2 separate regions of the Homo sapiens genome follow, and region 1 is linked to region 2. Evidence: promoter capture Hi-C in 16 types of primary human blood cells and fetal thymus (Javierre and others, 2016). All regions are on one chromosome and are shown on one strand. Each heading gives the region's core, a stretch centred on a gene start or on the middle of the fragment in contact. The rest is flanking DNA. Distances are from core to core; before and after follow the strand shown.

The links. Contacts are between HindIII fragments. The CHiCAGO score rates a contact against its expected background, and 5 or more counts as called.
Region 1: a fragment that was not itself captured here is called in contact with the fragment with the promoter of MYO1G in region 2 in 1 of 17 cell types (total B cells); the score reaches 5.9 in total B cells.

What each region holds. Positions count from the first base shown.
Region 1 is chr7:44,464,235-44,467,546 of GRCh38, forward strand. The region is part of intron 2 of NUDCD3 (NudC domain containing 3); the gene reads right to left. Among named protein-coding and RNA genes, the nearest start is that of NUDCD3, 25 kb to the right of the region's middle. The HindIII fragment of the contact is 2,956 bases long and covers 537-3,312 here.
Region 2 is chr7:44,977,204-44,980,369 of GRCh38, forward strand. It overlaps MYO1G (myosin IG), which reads right to left and starts at 1,812. Exons shown (of 22, transcript NM_033054.3): 1 at 1,664-1,812. The coding sequence starts at 1,758. RefSeq lists a silencer at 1,755-1,844 and enhancers at 2,045-2,114, 2,145-2,194. The HindIII fragment of the contact is 4,854 bases long and covers 1-2,385 here.

The sequences.
Region 1 (3,312 bases), core at 765-3,264, 510 kb before region 2:
AGAAAACGAAGCAAGAATCGTTTCCCAAATTAACTTCCTCCAAATAACAGTCCCTCAAAGTGACAGCAGGCCAACTAGAAAGAAAAAGAGCGCCACAGTCCCATTAATTTGAGTTAAATTACGTTTTTTTCATTTCACGGCCTCTGGGTTAGAACACAATATAGCACAGACAAATCATACACCCATGTCTCAGAAAACATCAGGCAGAGAAATGTACCTTGACTAGATCAACAATTTTTTTTTTTTGGTGGAGTCTTGCTGTGTCACCCAGTGCAATGGCACAATCTCGGCTCATTGCAACCTCCACCTCTCAGACTCAAGCAATCCTCCCACCTCAGCCTCCTGAGTAACTGGGATTACAGGCATGTACCACCAAACCCAGCTAATTTTTGTATTTTTAGTAGAGACAGGGTTTCACCACATTGGCCAGGCTGGTCTCGAGCTCTTGGCCTCAAGTAATCTGCCCGCCTTGGCCTCCCAAAGGGCTAGGATTACAGGTGTGAGACACCATGCCCGGCCCACCAAATCTTTACATAAGCTTCAATTTTTTCTTATTCTATGGACCAATACCCTTTTAGAAGGAGCGTTATCCCCATTCCAGCTTTTAGATTAAGACACCCAACAATACTGGCATTTAGTACAGAATCTCAACCCTCTTTTCCTTATTCTAAATTCCCTCCTCTTACAGTGCCAAAAACAATAACCCACATCCATCCCAGGGGCCGAGCCGAGGGCAGGGCTCAGGGAAGTGGCAGGGGAGCAGAAGGGCCCAAACGAAGGTGTAAACAGAAGCTGACACATGTGCTCTGCTCCACCTCAGCAGCACCAGTTCAAACACCTATGCTTTGCTCTCCGCCCTGTGCCCTAGACCCCACACGAGCATGGGACATCCCCAGGACATTTCCAGAGAGCATTTTAAATTTCCTTAATCTTAATGTTTTTTACATGTATTTTCTAATTTTCCTCTATATTACTATAAAGAAACTTTTAGTGATTTTAAAAATCTCACAGTCATCTCACATCATTCTCCCGTAATTCCACCAGAAATGAGGCTGAGAGAATACAGACAGCCACAGCACAGTTCACACAGTAAAACATCAACACCTTAAGGCCTGTCCACATGAAGTGGGAAACTTCTGAACAGCCGTTAGAGAACACAGCAGACACCCACTGAGACTGATGTGGATGAGCAGTGTATACAGCCACTATCATCTGTGGAAAGGTTAAAACTGAAAAAGTAGAGAATGTGGGACATTAATCGTGGAGGCCATGGGCACAGGGAGAACTCTCTGCACTTCCTGCTCAATTTTGCTGTGAACCTAAAGTCAGTCTAAAAATAAACTGTATTAACCAAAAAAGAAAAAAGTAAGAAGACAGGCATAGATAAGTATGCTTGTATTTTCATAGACTATCTCCTGACCGGTACACCAGACACTGGTAACAGCAGCCACTTAGGGTAGAGTGGATAAACACAGTCACCTCACTGTGTAGAGCAGAACAGAGCCACAGACAGGGCCGTGAGTGAGAAGACCACCAAAGTTCTACTATACACCCCACCGTACTTCTCAAATTGTTTTTGATATATGCATACAGCATTTTTCAAAACACCAGTTAAAAAAAATAAAGAAAAACTTTTACGGAAAAATAGGAAGTTCCAGGGTAAAAGGGGTGCAAGAGAGTCAAATCTAAATAAAAGCTAGAGCAGCAAAATCACAGATGCTTGGCCCCAAAGATACAAAGCTGACCTCGTGAATGCATACTTTTGGGAAAGAAATGACCAGTGAACCCAGGACCATGGAAGCCTGGGTGGCACAGCCACCCAACATGAGACATCTCAGTGGTATAAGCCAGATGCTTGCTGCCAGGAGCCAGCACTGCACCAATGTAAAGCTCACAATGGCCCCTAGAAGCAGGGACAGCCACCCAGGGCCAACTTGAGAAGGAAAAAAGCTAAAAAACAAGGAAAAAGTTGAAGAATCCTCATCCCATCCCCTGAGCCACCCTAAATTGGAAAATACTCAGCAGACACAAAAAGCCTCTCAAGAGGACACTGCCAACCCACTCGGGCAAGGGATCATACCCATATGCCCTGAACACTTCTGGGGCCACCATGCCTGGTTTCCTTTCTTACTCAGAACTCAGGGAGGTATGTACATGGGGTTTATTGCTTGTTTTCCTTGGAGAGAGAAACAGTTTTCTGTTTTTCTTACTTAAGACCCAGTACAGTCAGCAGGGCCCCAAAGGCCTCAGGAAGGAGGCTGCTAGTCACCACACCAATCTGTGAAGTGCTCATCCTGCCAGCCACTCTGGTACCAGGCTCAGCCATGTGGTTCTGGGCTCAGCCATGCTGCCTTCAAAAATTAGGGGAAACAAAAGGTCTGGAAGTTTGTTCTCCTAGGAGAACTTGAGCATCCAAAGTGACATTTCTCCTGCTTTATTCAGCTTTTCACTAGGGACACTTGGATAATGCTAAGTGTTTTCTAGGTCACAGCTAGTCCTACCTACCCACTTATTGGGAAGCTCTAGCAGCAGCAGAATAGAAAGCTCTGGGTGAGCCTGCAAAGCAGGAGGCATGCTAGTGGGCAGGAGGGAGAAAGTGTGCAAACACCCCCGCTTCCCATGAATCACTAGGTCACAAAGCCCCACCGGGTGAGGGAACGTGTGACCCACTCAGACTGCTGTTTCAGACTCTGCTATGAGGGTCATGGGAAGAGAGCACTGGCCCTCCTTGGGAGAAGATTCTGGTCCAAATCTATGGTGTGGCTCAGCTATCAGCAGTGAAGATTGAGGGGCACTGACTGGTTTCTTTCCCCACATTCACCCTCACCAGCCCCCCGTGGTGAAGAAGGTTGGGTGTCACTTCCTCCAACCTCTGCAGGGCAGAGTGTGCTGCTATTACAGGGCCTGCTGAACCAGCATCTCACCCCTACTGAAGAATGGGTCAATAAAGATAGAAAAGTTATGACAGAAAAGGAGGGAAGGAAGGAGAGTCCCTTCCAATGGTCCTCACAATAATACCACCCACAGAGATCGGTGTGAAATTTTGCTTTCAGAAGTAGAATGTGCCCAGACAGAATCAGAACTGCTCATTTAACATGGGAACGGCGAAGCGCCCACTCCAAGACTTCTGCTAGTGGGTGGCCAGAAAGAAGCCATCCTCTCTCCCTTCCTGACTCAAATTGTACAACTGCTCAAAGGAAGAAAAAGAAGCCAGAGGTTCCTCTGCATCAGCCAGAGGCCAATCACCCTGATCCAGGCTGCCAAGTTAGAACCCAAGCTCCCAGATCAAGGGACAAGTCAGAGGTGGAGCTC
Region 2 (3,166 bases), core at 562-3,061:
AAGAAGGGGGCAGGTGTTGACCTTGCGTCTCCCTGGTGCCATCCTGGGTGAGCTGAGCCACTCAGAGACTGTCTCCATTGCGGCATAGAGTTTGGGGTCCACAGTGGTCTCCCCAGGGATCCCAAGGTCACTGGAAACATGACCACTCATTTTGCAAAGGAAACAGACTTGCCCAAGACTGCACTGGGTGCCGTGAGTCAGGGCTGGCTCCTGGGGTGAACCCCGCAGGGCAGATGGGGAGATGGGGTTGAGAAGTGACTGGGCTGGGAGGGGAAGGAGGGGCCTCCTCGGCTGTTTCCTGTCTCAAGGCCTGGGCGGGAACCCAGAGACAAAAGGGGACCCCACCCAGCCCCACCCAGATGACAGGGAGGGAGTTGATGTCGTTGTCTTTACACCCCCGACCCCCCAGCCTGTGGCCAGTGGCTGCTGCCTCTCCCCTGGCACAGCCTCAGACTTCTTGACCCTTTCCTTCACAAACCTGGTCCCCAGTGGGGGTGGATGTCTGCCCTTCTCTTGACCTTTCTGCCCCTGGGAGGAGGACTGGCAGGCCTGCCCCTCAGACCCATCTCCCCTTGGTGTGTGGTACCCACCCTTCCCTGGATGGCCCTGTCTCCCGGCAGCCTGTCCTGGGTGGGCCTGTCCTGAGGTTCCTCTTTCTCCACCACCTCTGACATGGGTTTTCCTGGGCCTAGCTCCCATCCTCCTACAAGCTGGGGATGAGGGCACAAGTCACCCACGTCTCCAGGGCTCAGTGTTCTCCTCATCAAAATAGAGAGGACAATGTTTCATAAGCTCATTTTATAAGAATGAGGTAGAACAATGTGCACAAAGTGCTTAGCTCACGTCCTGGCTAGCCCTCCTCTTTGAGCCAGGCTCGTGGTCTCTTGCCTTCGGTGCTTAGTGGGGATCCTGGTCCCCAAGCTCTCCCCAGGGAGCTTCCGGAGTACACAGCGAGTGGCCTTCTGCCCCTCCCTGGGAGTCCTGGCAGGAAGCCCAGCTGCCTGTATGGCCACCCTACTGTGCCATGCCCCTACCTCCCGGGCTTCTCCCTGCCCTCCACCTGCCCTCCTTGATGGTAAATTGGGCTCCAATATCACTTCTACCAACTGTGTCCTGTGATACTCCATGTACCCCAGGAGAATGTCACCTCAACTTGGTGGGAATGTTTGGACCCTAGGGTGGAGCCTGACTGCTTCATCTCAGTGTCCCCAGGGCTCAGGCCAGGCCCCATGGATGAGATGCATCGAGGGAGCATCAACAACTGGCTGGGAAGTGGCTGGAGGGAGGTGCCCCTGGTCCCTCCTGGAAAGATAGTGCCTGGTATGTATCTGTCCAAGAAGTGTCATGCCCTGGCCCCGTCGGGCAGGAAAGAAGGGGCAGAAGATGCCTGGACTGTGTGGGAGGCAGGGGTGGGTTGAGGTGGTGGGCAGCTCCGGTGCTGACTTGCCAGCCCTGACAGGGACAGTTGCCTCCTTGTCTGTTCCTGTCCCCTGGGGCCGTGCTTTGAGGCACTCATTTCAGCCCCATCTGGTCTGGGTGGGTGTGTGCCACTGCCCCCTCCCTTGGACAGCAGCGTGCCTTCCTCTTTCCCTCAGGTCTCTGCGAGGACGCAAGGTGGGAGACCCTGGAGGAGGGGAGCCACTGCCTCCTGCCCTGGGCCTACCTGAGCTGCAGGTTCCTCATGAAGTCCTCCATGGTCACTTGGTCCAAAAGCACAAAGTCAGGTTTGCCATACTCAGGGCCTTCCTCGTCCTCCATCCTGCCGGCTGGAAACACCTTGCCTCACCTTCCTGTGCCTGCTGGAAGGACAGTGAAGGAGAGGGGGAGGGAAGGCTAGGGGAGGCCCCACCGCCCCCGCCCTGCCCCACCAGCCTCCTCCAGTGCTGGTGTAAAGTAGGAAGTGGGTTCTAGTCCTGGGAGGGGCTGCCCTCCGCACTTGCCACTCCTTCCCCCTCGAGGTGCTCTAAACCCTGCTTCCTGTCCCTGCGCCCCACAAGGAGGCTGTGCCTAACGGTCTGACCCGTTTGCACGCCAGGGGCGAGGGGCCGGATGCTGGGTCCTCCCCGCTTTGGAGGGTTCTTCGCTGGCCTCCTTCGGAAGCTCCCCTCCACCCACAAGCAGGAGACAAGACTCCGTGGGTTGGCTTCCAACCCTGGCAGCACGTTAGAGTCACTTGTGGGACTTTAAAGAAAGATTTTTTGACGTGATCTTGGTTACCTGGCTGTGTGTGTCTCTCAAGTCAGAACTGAACACTAGATGCAATATACTGTATGTACATTGTACATTAATACAAAAATGAAAAAGGATCCTAATGCCCAGGCCTTTGGGGTGGGGGCAACAGCCTTCTTTGCAGTGTGAAGGCCACACTGGGGTGTAGACGAGCAAAGCTTCTTGTGTGACCTGCCAAGGGCCAGTGGTCCTAGCACTGCAATTCCCCACCCCAGCCACGGGGGAGGGACAGAGGACCCCAGAGCATCCTCTGCATGGGGCTGGCCTTCAGTGGGACCCCTGTGCCCCTAACTGTCCTCTGCCTTGTACTTGTGTCCAGCCGATCCCCCATAAACTGCAGTGAGGACCAGGAACATGCCTGGAGCCCTGTGGCCTCATCTCAGAGCTGCTGTCCCTGCACTTTGAAGATGAGGCAGCGCATTTGGGGAGCGGCTGCATTTAGGGAGTGGCCAAAATCTCCAGACACTGCATTCCTGACACTTAGTGCTCCTGGAAGAAGTGGGAGGGGTGCAGTTCTCTTAGCTTCCAGGCAGACTGGAAAAAGTTCTTTTTCATCCCAGGACAGACTGGGGCAGGTCACACCCATCCTCTAGGAACACTGGGGCGATTCTCTCATCAAAGGTCAAATGGATGCAGTTCTCTCTCATCCTACAAATAGACTGGTGACATTTCTCTTTCACCCCTTCCCTCATACAGGGAGGTCAAAGGGCAGACTCCAGAATTCCCAAACTTCAGTCATTCATGTGCTGCCTTTGAGATTTGTTGTACTCATAAGCACTAGTTTAACTATTGTCTTTCAGTCATCCCATTTTTTAAACTTTGAAGTAATGGATAGGCAAGTTAAGTTTATTTTTTTCTCTCGAATACCTTAAAGCAAATGCATTCCTGATAAAACTGAAAGTACTTATTCAAGTACCTAATAAAACTGAGTCACGCA